Regions from separate parts of the Homo sapiens genome. Here region 1 is linked to region 2. The links are contacts of gene promoters, found by promoter capture Hi-C in human tissues and cell types (Jung and others, 2019). All regions are on one chromosome and are shown on one strand. The core of a region is centred on a gene start or on the middle of the fragment in contact, and the rest is flanking DNA. Distances in the headings are between cores, read along the strand shown. Region 1 holds the start of LOC124901398 (a long non-coding RNA gene). Region 2 holds the start of KIAA0408.

Region 1 (3,953 bases), core at 408-2,907, 230 kb after region 2:
AGGTAGACCTGGTGTTGACAAAATCTCTCAGCATTTGTTGGTCTGCAAAGAATTTTATTGCTCTTTTGCTTATAAAGCTTATTTTAGCTGGACATGAAATTCCAGGTTGAAAATTCTTTTCTTTAAGAGTGTTGGATATTGTTCCCCACTGTCTTCTGGTTTGTGGGGTTTCTGCAGAGAGATTTGCTGTTAGTCTGATGGGCTTCCCTTTGTGGGTAACCCGACCATTCTCTCTGGCTGTTCTTAACATTTTTTCCTTCTTTTCAACCTTGCTGAATCTGACAATTATGTGTCTTGGAGTTTCTCTTCTCAAGGAGCATCTTTGTGGTGTTCCCTGTATTTCCTGAATTTGAATGTTGGCCTGTCTTGCTAGGCTGGGGACGTTCTCCTGGATAATATCCTGAAGAGTGTTTTCCAACTTGGTTCCATTCTCCCCATCACTTACAGGTACACCAATCAAACGTAGATTTGGTCTTTTTACATAGTGCCATATTTCTTGGAGGCTTTGTTAGTTCCTTTTCATTCTTTTTTATCTAATCTTGTCTTCATGCTTTATTTCATTAAGTTGATCTTCAATCTCTGATATCCTTTCTTTCGCTTGATCGATTCGGCCATTGATACTTGTGTATGCTTCATAAAGTTCTCATGCTGTGTTTTTCAGCTCCATCAGGTCATTTATGTTCTTCTCTAAACTGGTTATTCTAGTTAGCAATTTCCTTAGCCTTTTTTCAAGGTTCTTAGCTTCCTTGCATTGGGTTAAAATATGCTCCTTTAGCTCTGAGGAGTTTGTTATTACCTACCTTCTGAAGCTTGCTTCTGCCAATTCGTCAAAGTCATTCTCCATCCAGTTTTGTTCTCTTGCTGGTAAGGATTTGTGATCCTTTGGAGGAGAAGAAGCATTCTGGTTTTTGGAATTTTTAGCCTTTTTGCACTGGTTTTTCCTTATCTTTGTGGATTTATCTACCTTTGGTCTTTGATGTTGGTGACCTTCGGATGAGGTTTCTGTGTGGATGTCCTTTTTGTTGATGTTGATCCTATTCCTTTCTGTTTGTTAATTTTCCTTCTAACAGTCAGGCCCCTCTGCTGCAGGTCTGCTGGAGTTTGCTGGAGGTCAACTCCAGACATTGTTTGCCTGGGTATCACCAGCGAAGGCTGCAGAACAGCAAAGATTGCTGCCTGTTCCTTCATCTGGAAGCTTCGTCCCAAAGGGGCACCCACCAGATGCCAGCTGGAGCTCTACCGTATGAGGTGTCTTTCAACCCCTGCTGAGAGGTGTCTCCCAGTCAGGAGGCACGGGGGTCGGGGACCCACTTGAAGAGGTAGTCTGCCCCTTAGCAGAGCTCAAGCACTGTGCTGGGAGATCTGCTGCTCTCTTCAGAGCTAGCAGGCAGGAACTTTTAAGTCTGCTGAAGCTGCACCCACAGCCACCCCTTCCCCCAGGTGCTCTGTCCCAGAGAGATGGTAGTTTTATCTATGAGCCCCTGACTGGGGCTGCTGCCTTTTTTTCAGTAATGCCCTGCCCAGAGGGGAGGAATCTAGGGAGACAGTCTAGCTACAGTGGCTTTGCCTAGCTGCAGTGGGCTCCACCTAGTTCGAACTTCCCGGCGGCTTTGTTCACACTGTGAGGGGAAAATCACCTACTCAATCCTCAGTAATGGTGGTTGCCGCTCCCCCTACCAAGCTCGAGCATTACAGGTCAACCAGACTGCTGTGCTGGCAGCAAGAATTTCAAGCCAGCGGATCTTAGCTTGTTGGGCTCTGTAGGGGTTGGATCCACTGAGCTAGACCACTTGGCTCTCTGGCTTCAGCCCCCCTTTCCAGGGGAGTGAATGGTTCTGTCTCGCTGGCATTCCAGGCACCACTGGGGTATGGAAAAAAAACTTCTGCAGCTAGCTTTGTGTCTGCCCAAATGGCTGTCCAGTTTTGTGCTTGATGCCCTGGGCCCTGGTGGCATAGGCACCTGAGGGAATCTCCTGGTCTGCAGGTTGCAAAGACCATGGGAAAAGTGTAGTAACTGGGTCGGAGTGCACCATTTCTCATGGCACAGTCCCTCATGGTTTCCCTTGGCTAGGGGAAGGAGTCCTTCTACCCCTTGCATTTCCTGGGTGAGGTGATACCCCACCCTGCTTCGGCTTGCCCTCCATGGGCTGCACCCACTGTCTAACCAGTCCCAGTGAGATGAGCCAGGTACCTCAGTTGGAAATGCAGAAATCACCCGCCTTCTGCATTGATCTTGCTGCTGGGAGCTGCAGACCGGAGCTGTTCCTGTTCGGCCATCTTGCCAGCCCTATTGTTTTATATTATTACCAGTGTTTGGTTGGTTAATGAAGTGCATGATTGGTTTATGTGTGTGCATTAGTAAATTTAACCTTTCTTATTGAATATCTTTTATGTATAAAGCTTTCTGGTTTGTATTTTGGGGACATGGGGTTAGTTTTCTTCTTTTCATGAGCTTATAATCAAGTATGGGAGACAGACATAAACACAAATGACTCTTAAATAAGGCATCAAATTAAAATGCCAAAATAGTTCTTAGAGAAGACTGGGTGCCTTTGGAAGGCTGAGGTGGGAGGATCACTGGAGGTCAGGAGTTCGAGACCAGCCTGATCAATATGGTTAAACCTGTCTCTTTTAAAAATACAAAAATTAGCTGGGCATGGTGGCAGGCACCTGTAATCCCAGCTACTTGGGAGGCTGAGGCAGGAGAATTGCTTGAACCCAGGAGGCGGAGGTTGCAGTGAGCTGAGATCACACCACTGCACTCCAGCCTGGGTGACCAAGCTAGACTCCATCTCAGGAAAAAAAAAAAAAGTTCTTAAAGAAAAAAACACAACATACTCCCCTTAAAAACAAGGAATTCTGAGGGAGAGGTTAATTATACTTGTGGGGTCTACATGGAGAGTCTTGAGAATACTTGGAGAGAGAGAGAAGAAAAACAGAACTGGCAACCAAATTCTGGAAATATAGCAAAGAGAAAATGCCAGAGTAAGGGAATATAAAAAAATAGATATAATGGTGTATTTTAAGTATTCTTCTGTTTTAGAAGACAACCAACTTATTGGGAACTTTCTTTTGTGGTACTACTTGCATTTTTAAGTATATTAGTTTTACGTTGTGGAGAATCATTTAAAAATAATTGTTATCTAAAGAATATGCTTAGTCACAAAAACAGTCATTGGAATCATAAAATATTTTACTTTTCAATCTATTCTATTACTGTTAAATTCTATTCACCTTTATATTCATTCTATTTCTATTAACAATAATATCTTCTAAATCTTCACGTACATGAAAAATGTGTAAGCAAACAGAAAATTTTCAAGTCAAACGCTGGTCAATTCAAATCCACAAGAGAGCAAACAGTACTTCTAAAAATAAGTTTTTTAAAAAACCATAATGTAACATGTCTTCATATTTAACGACAATACATAATCATATGAGGAACATATGGATATTATTTTATCTGTTTTAGAAATTAAAGTTCTAGAACACAGATATTTAACCAGATTCATGTGCTGTATATATGGGTTTTTGTATTTTATTGTAGTTCCTTACTTGCATCATATTATAGTTGAAATAATATTAATAATAATTATTATGATTTATTGAATGGCTCTTATGTGCTATCTACATGATATATCTTTTCTTAAATGATCCTAACAACTCTAGAAAATAAGTAGTACTAACTTCATATTAAGTATGACTTAAACAAGTCATGCACTTTGCAAATGATATGGCAGATTTCTGCTTGACCACACAGTGAATGCTTTGTCCAAACCACCTATTTTGCTTTGAACTATTCTATTTTGGCCTGGGAAGGGGAATTACTGCTGATGTGATTGGTTAATGGTTAGTCCTATTACACCAGGCTTGTATCCATTGCTACCTTTTTGTATGTCTCTGAATTATCAAACGAACAGGAGCCTCCTGACTGAGACTATGTACTATTAATG
Region 2 (4,412 bases), core at 860-3,359:
AGTGACACTTAGGAAGTATAGTCCAACCTAACATCTCTTGTAACTTAGACACATACTATCTGAATTTTCGATAGGATTTACAAAATAGTCTTAGTTTGATTTACAAGTGATACATAGAAGTTAAGAAGTTTGGAGTAGAAGAAAAGGTAAAGGAAACAATGTTTTTTGTTTTGTTTCTCTGAGACAGAGTCTTGCTCTGTCAACCAGGCTGGAGTGCAGGAATGCCATCTCTGCTTACTACAACCTCTGCCTCCCGGGTTCAAGCAATTCTCCTGCCTCAGCCTCCCTAGTAGCTGGGATTACAGGCCTGAGCCACCACAGCCGGCTAATTTTTTTATTTTTAGTAGACACAGGGTTTCACCATGTTGGCCAGGCTTGTCTCGAACTCCTGACCCCATGTGATCCACCTGCCTCCGCCTCCAGAAGTGCTGGGATTACAGGTGTGAGCAACCACACCCGGCCAGAAACAATGTTAAGACAATTCTGTATTGATGTTTTTGTGCAACTCCCTCCTCCCTTTCCCTCTCTCAAAGAATCTTCTTCCTAGCCTCATAAGCATGGAGGCAGACATGAGCTACCCTTTATTGTGTGCTTGGCGCTATATATATTCCCTCATATTCTTATGGCCTCTTAAAGTAAATATAATTATGTCTTTAAGGAAGAATCAGGGTCTGCAAGATCACACAGATAAGTGGTGGCAGCAGAATTGAAACTTAGATCTCTATGACAAAATTCCATGGTTTGCAATCAGACAAAACAGTTCAAACCCGTTTCCTCCACATGGGTGCATTTCTATGAACTTTTGCATGATGCTTTACCACAATGAGCCTTGCTTGGGTTTTATCAGTAAGATCAGATTATCAGTATCTAGAGACAGAATTGCTCTGAGGGTGAACTCAGATAAAGGTCTGTTCAAAGTACTTAGCACAGAACCTTGCAGAGGGTTGCCCCTCAGTGAATAATCACTATTATTACTATAACTATCACTGTTATTGTTGTTATTGCTGTTGAGATTATGATGTCAGGCTTTCCAGACACAGAGTATGGTTTCATTTGATTGTCCTACATGTATTAAAGTCCTACTGTGAGCAGGTTACTATTACTAAACTTTAGCTCCTCATGAAATGTTTATCTGGAAGCAGGTGAAAATAATGTGAGTGAATATGTATTACTTTAAAGACCACACCAGGGAAGCTCTTCAGACTTGAAGATAAGACCTTATTGTTTAAACTTGTGTATTTGCTAAGTTAGGCAAAAAATTGCTCTAGAGACTTTTTTGACTAAATTAAACCAAATATCATCAGATGCATGTGTGTACAAAGCCACAATAAACCTGAAAATGTCGCTGGGGAGGCAAGATCTCCTAGCATTTCAGAACAGGCTGATTTGATCATGATTTAGAGAGCTTTTCCATACACTTAGGCTGCTTTCTCTTCCTATGGCTGCAGCACACTTTAGTGGAAAATAAGCCCATAGGTATCTCATTTTTGGGGTGTGTGTGTGTGTGTGTTTTGTCCTCCCACAATAAGAAATCTCATCCTTTCCCATGGGCTCTGATTTTCTCTAACGTAAAGACATCGCTACTACTGTAGATAAAAGCAACACACTGTCAGAATCACAGAGAGCTAAGAGGTTGGACTTTATGTTCCATTTCTATTTTATTTGAAGATAGAAGTTTGATAACTTTCACAGATCTTTTGAGAGTGCATAATATATATAATTATGCTACACATATTGTTCTGCCACATCCAGATGCAAACTTCTAAAGGTGCAGCAGAGTACATCCTGCCACCAGCTGAGAAGGAGAAAGAATTATGGAAGGAGGGAGATAATTCTTGCCTATAAAAAAATGAGTTTACTTTCCTAATAAAATAAATCTAAAATTGGCCATTGTCATTGTATGATGTTAACAACCAGCTCTTTTGGCAAGTTTGAAAATACTGGGCTCCATTATAAAAGCTAAAAATGTCCTGGACCTGGAGTTGTTTACCCAGAGCATGAGCTGCTCTAAAGTTACAGAGCTCTGGTTGGAAGAGGTGGCTTGAAGGCCGCCTCCAAGTAACTGACGTCACAGTAGTCTCAGCTGCTGCTGTGACACTAAGCTGAGCAGCTTTTTGACTTGTAAAAGTGGTGAAGGTTTCAAAGGGACTTGTCAGTACTGCTCTGTGGAATGGTTGGACTTATTTTGCATCCCCTTTTCTTGTAAAGAATCGAGATTCACCGAGCTGAGACTTTTCTCTTTAAGACAGCTAGCCATCCACTTTCTTCCACTGCTAATTGACCAGTGGTCGAGCATCCATAGGATTTCTCCCCAGTGTGAAAGGTATGTTTCTTTCCGGCAAGTTTACAAGCAAGTGACTAATTATGGCAGGATACAAAGGGGCTGCTGTTGAGATGTTTTAAACTATGGATACTGTTTAAGTGGAGTGTAATTTCAACATCTGTCTCTGCTGTTGTCTGTGTCTGGGCTTAAAAACAGTGGGCGGGGTGCATAACAGATTGTACTGACTCCTAGGAAAAAGGCTGTTCAGCTGCTCAGGGTGGATTTCCCAACTGTGGACTGACAGTACCATCCGCTCTTTGAGACTGTTTTTCCAACACTGCTTCTCAGTTGTTTGAAAAGCACTTTGCCCATCATTGATTTTCACTAAGTATATTTATTCAAATGTGATTTTTTTTATTCATATAAAGACTTTTAACATTTGCAAATTAAAGGTCACAATCCTGGAGACTTGGTATTTGAAAATTGCGGTGAAAAATAAATTTTAGTTTTATCTAAGGTGGTGGTGGACTCACTGTAGAGTTAGTGTTTCTGTAATTTGAGCTGAAGTCTATGCCATTCATAATTGAATAATCTACGTTTAGGAGGGAAACTTACCACTATGTCTTTTGTTCACGATGGTTAGTTTTAGACATTTGTTTACTCAAACCAAATGTTTGCTTTTAAAGTTTGCATTTTATAAGTAAAATCAGTGTGCATACAGCTTGGATGTTTTCTAATTTGAGTAAATAACTGTAAAGAAAACAAGGAAGAAGATAATTAAATGAAACGGTAAAGTTGATTCATTCGGAATTGCATGTGGTAGTGTCTCTTTGACCTTGTTGGAGCATGAGGAATGTGCTAAATCAGCAATACACAGCAATGAAAAAAATTTCCCTTTTACTCTAACAAAATCAAATCATGGTGGTCTTTGGAAAGATTCAATTGCAAGTGAACAATAGAGAGGAATGAGATTTATTAATTCATTGAAATAATTCAAGTGATTATAATAGCCTGGAGAAAGGGATAGAGAATTTAGGAGGTAAATGGTACATTACTCTGATAGGTTATAAGCTGGGGAATTCCTAATCCATCAAAGTTAAGCAGAAGCAAAACATCTTCAGGCCAAATGAGTCTTCTAGGAATTGTGAGATTAGCAGTACCTACTGTGTGTGGCATTTCTATTGGAATATGTAACCTCTTATAAATGAAAAATCTTTAATTATGTGAAAAGTGATATGTTTAGCAAAAGGAAATAAGGACAGCAAGAAACAAGTACTCTAAACAATAATCTAAAAAGAGAGAAGTAGCAATGGAGCAGCTGCCCCTAAGGAACGCTGTTTAGTTTGTTTGGATGCAGTCCAGTTTTCAATGGGCGAGTTGGAGGTTGAAAGGGTAGTGACCCAGGTGTCCTAAGAATGGAGCACCCCTCAGAGAAAGAATTGCTGCCATGACCAAACTGAGGCTAATTTGGGGGTGAAAATAATTTCTTGTGAGACTTGTGTGTTACTCTTAAACTTTGCTTACTGGTAGGGCCGGAAGGCTAGCAGAACTATTTGCCTCCCATCACCATACTTATGCAACCCACTCACAACTCTTTATAATTCTGGCTTTCAGCCCTGGAAAGGGGAAGTAAGTTAAAAGGGATTATGCAATGCTGGTTTAGAGTTGGGGTGTGTGACTAAGTAATGCAGCTCACTCTGTCCTCTTACATTTGCTCTAATAAATTTTTATTCTGAAATGGAATTCTAGAAGGAAGAACATAAACTGGAGAGCCAAAGAGATATGGGGTAGGGGATGCAGATAGCAGAAATCCTTCCTTCTCTCCCACATAGATGCCAGTATCTGTGGGAGAAAATGAGTGACAACTAGGAACAAAAAGAACTTTTATTTTTGCCCCAGTAGAGAGCACTTAAATTGAGTTTTTGAATCTGCTGAACCACTTTACCCCATAACTTCTCATTACGAAACATTCTATCTCTACAAAGTTGCCCCTTCAGTTTGATATTTTTTGTAATATTTAAGTCAGATTTATAACAAAAGCAGTTTTACATAAGATTTGTTCACATTTTTATTAACAATAAAACTTTTTTCTTTAAATATGTGACATGTATCTTTAAAATATTTGAAAAAAGGCAAAAGAAGATCATGG

Evidence for each region. The method cuts DNA at HindIII sites, captures the fragments that hold promoters and counts their contacts. A contact is called where the count stands out against the background at its distance.
Region 1: a fragment that was not itself captured here is called in contact with the fragment with the promoter of KIAA0408 in region 2 in 2 of the 25 tissues and cell types used here (ovary and pancreas).

Annotation. Positions count from the first base shown.
Region 1 is chr6:127,226,520-127,230,472 of GRCh38, reverse strand. It overlaps LOC124901398 (a long non-coding RNA gene), which reads left to right and starts at 1,458. Exons shown (of 2, transcript XR_007059749.1): 1 at 1,458-3,953. The HindIII fragment of the contact is 3,413 bases long and covers 1-3,363 here.
Region 2 is chr6:127,457,086-127,461,497 of GRCh38, reverse strand. KIAA0408 reads left to right here and starts at 2,109. Exons shown (of 6, transcript NM_014702.5): 1 at 2,109-2,323. The region is part of intron 7 of SOGA3-KIAA0408 (SOGA3-KIAA0408 readthrough); the gene reads left to right. The HindIII fragment of the contact is 15,174 bases long and covers 1-4,412 here.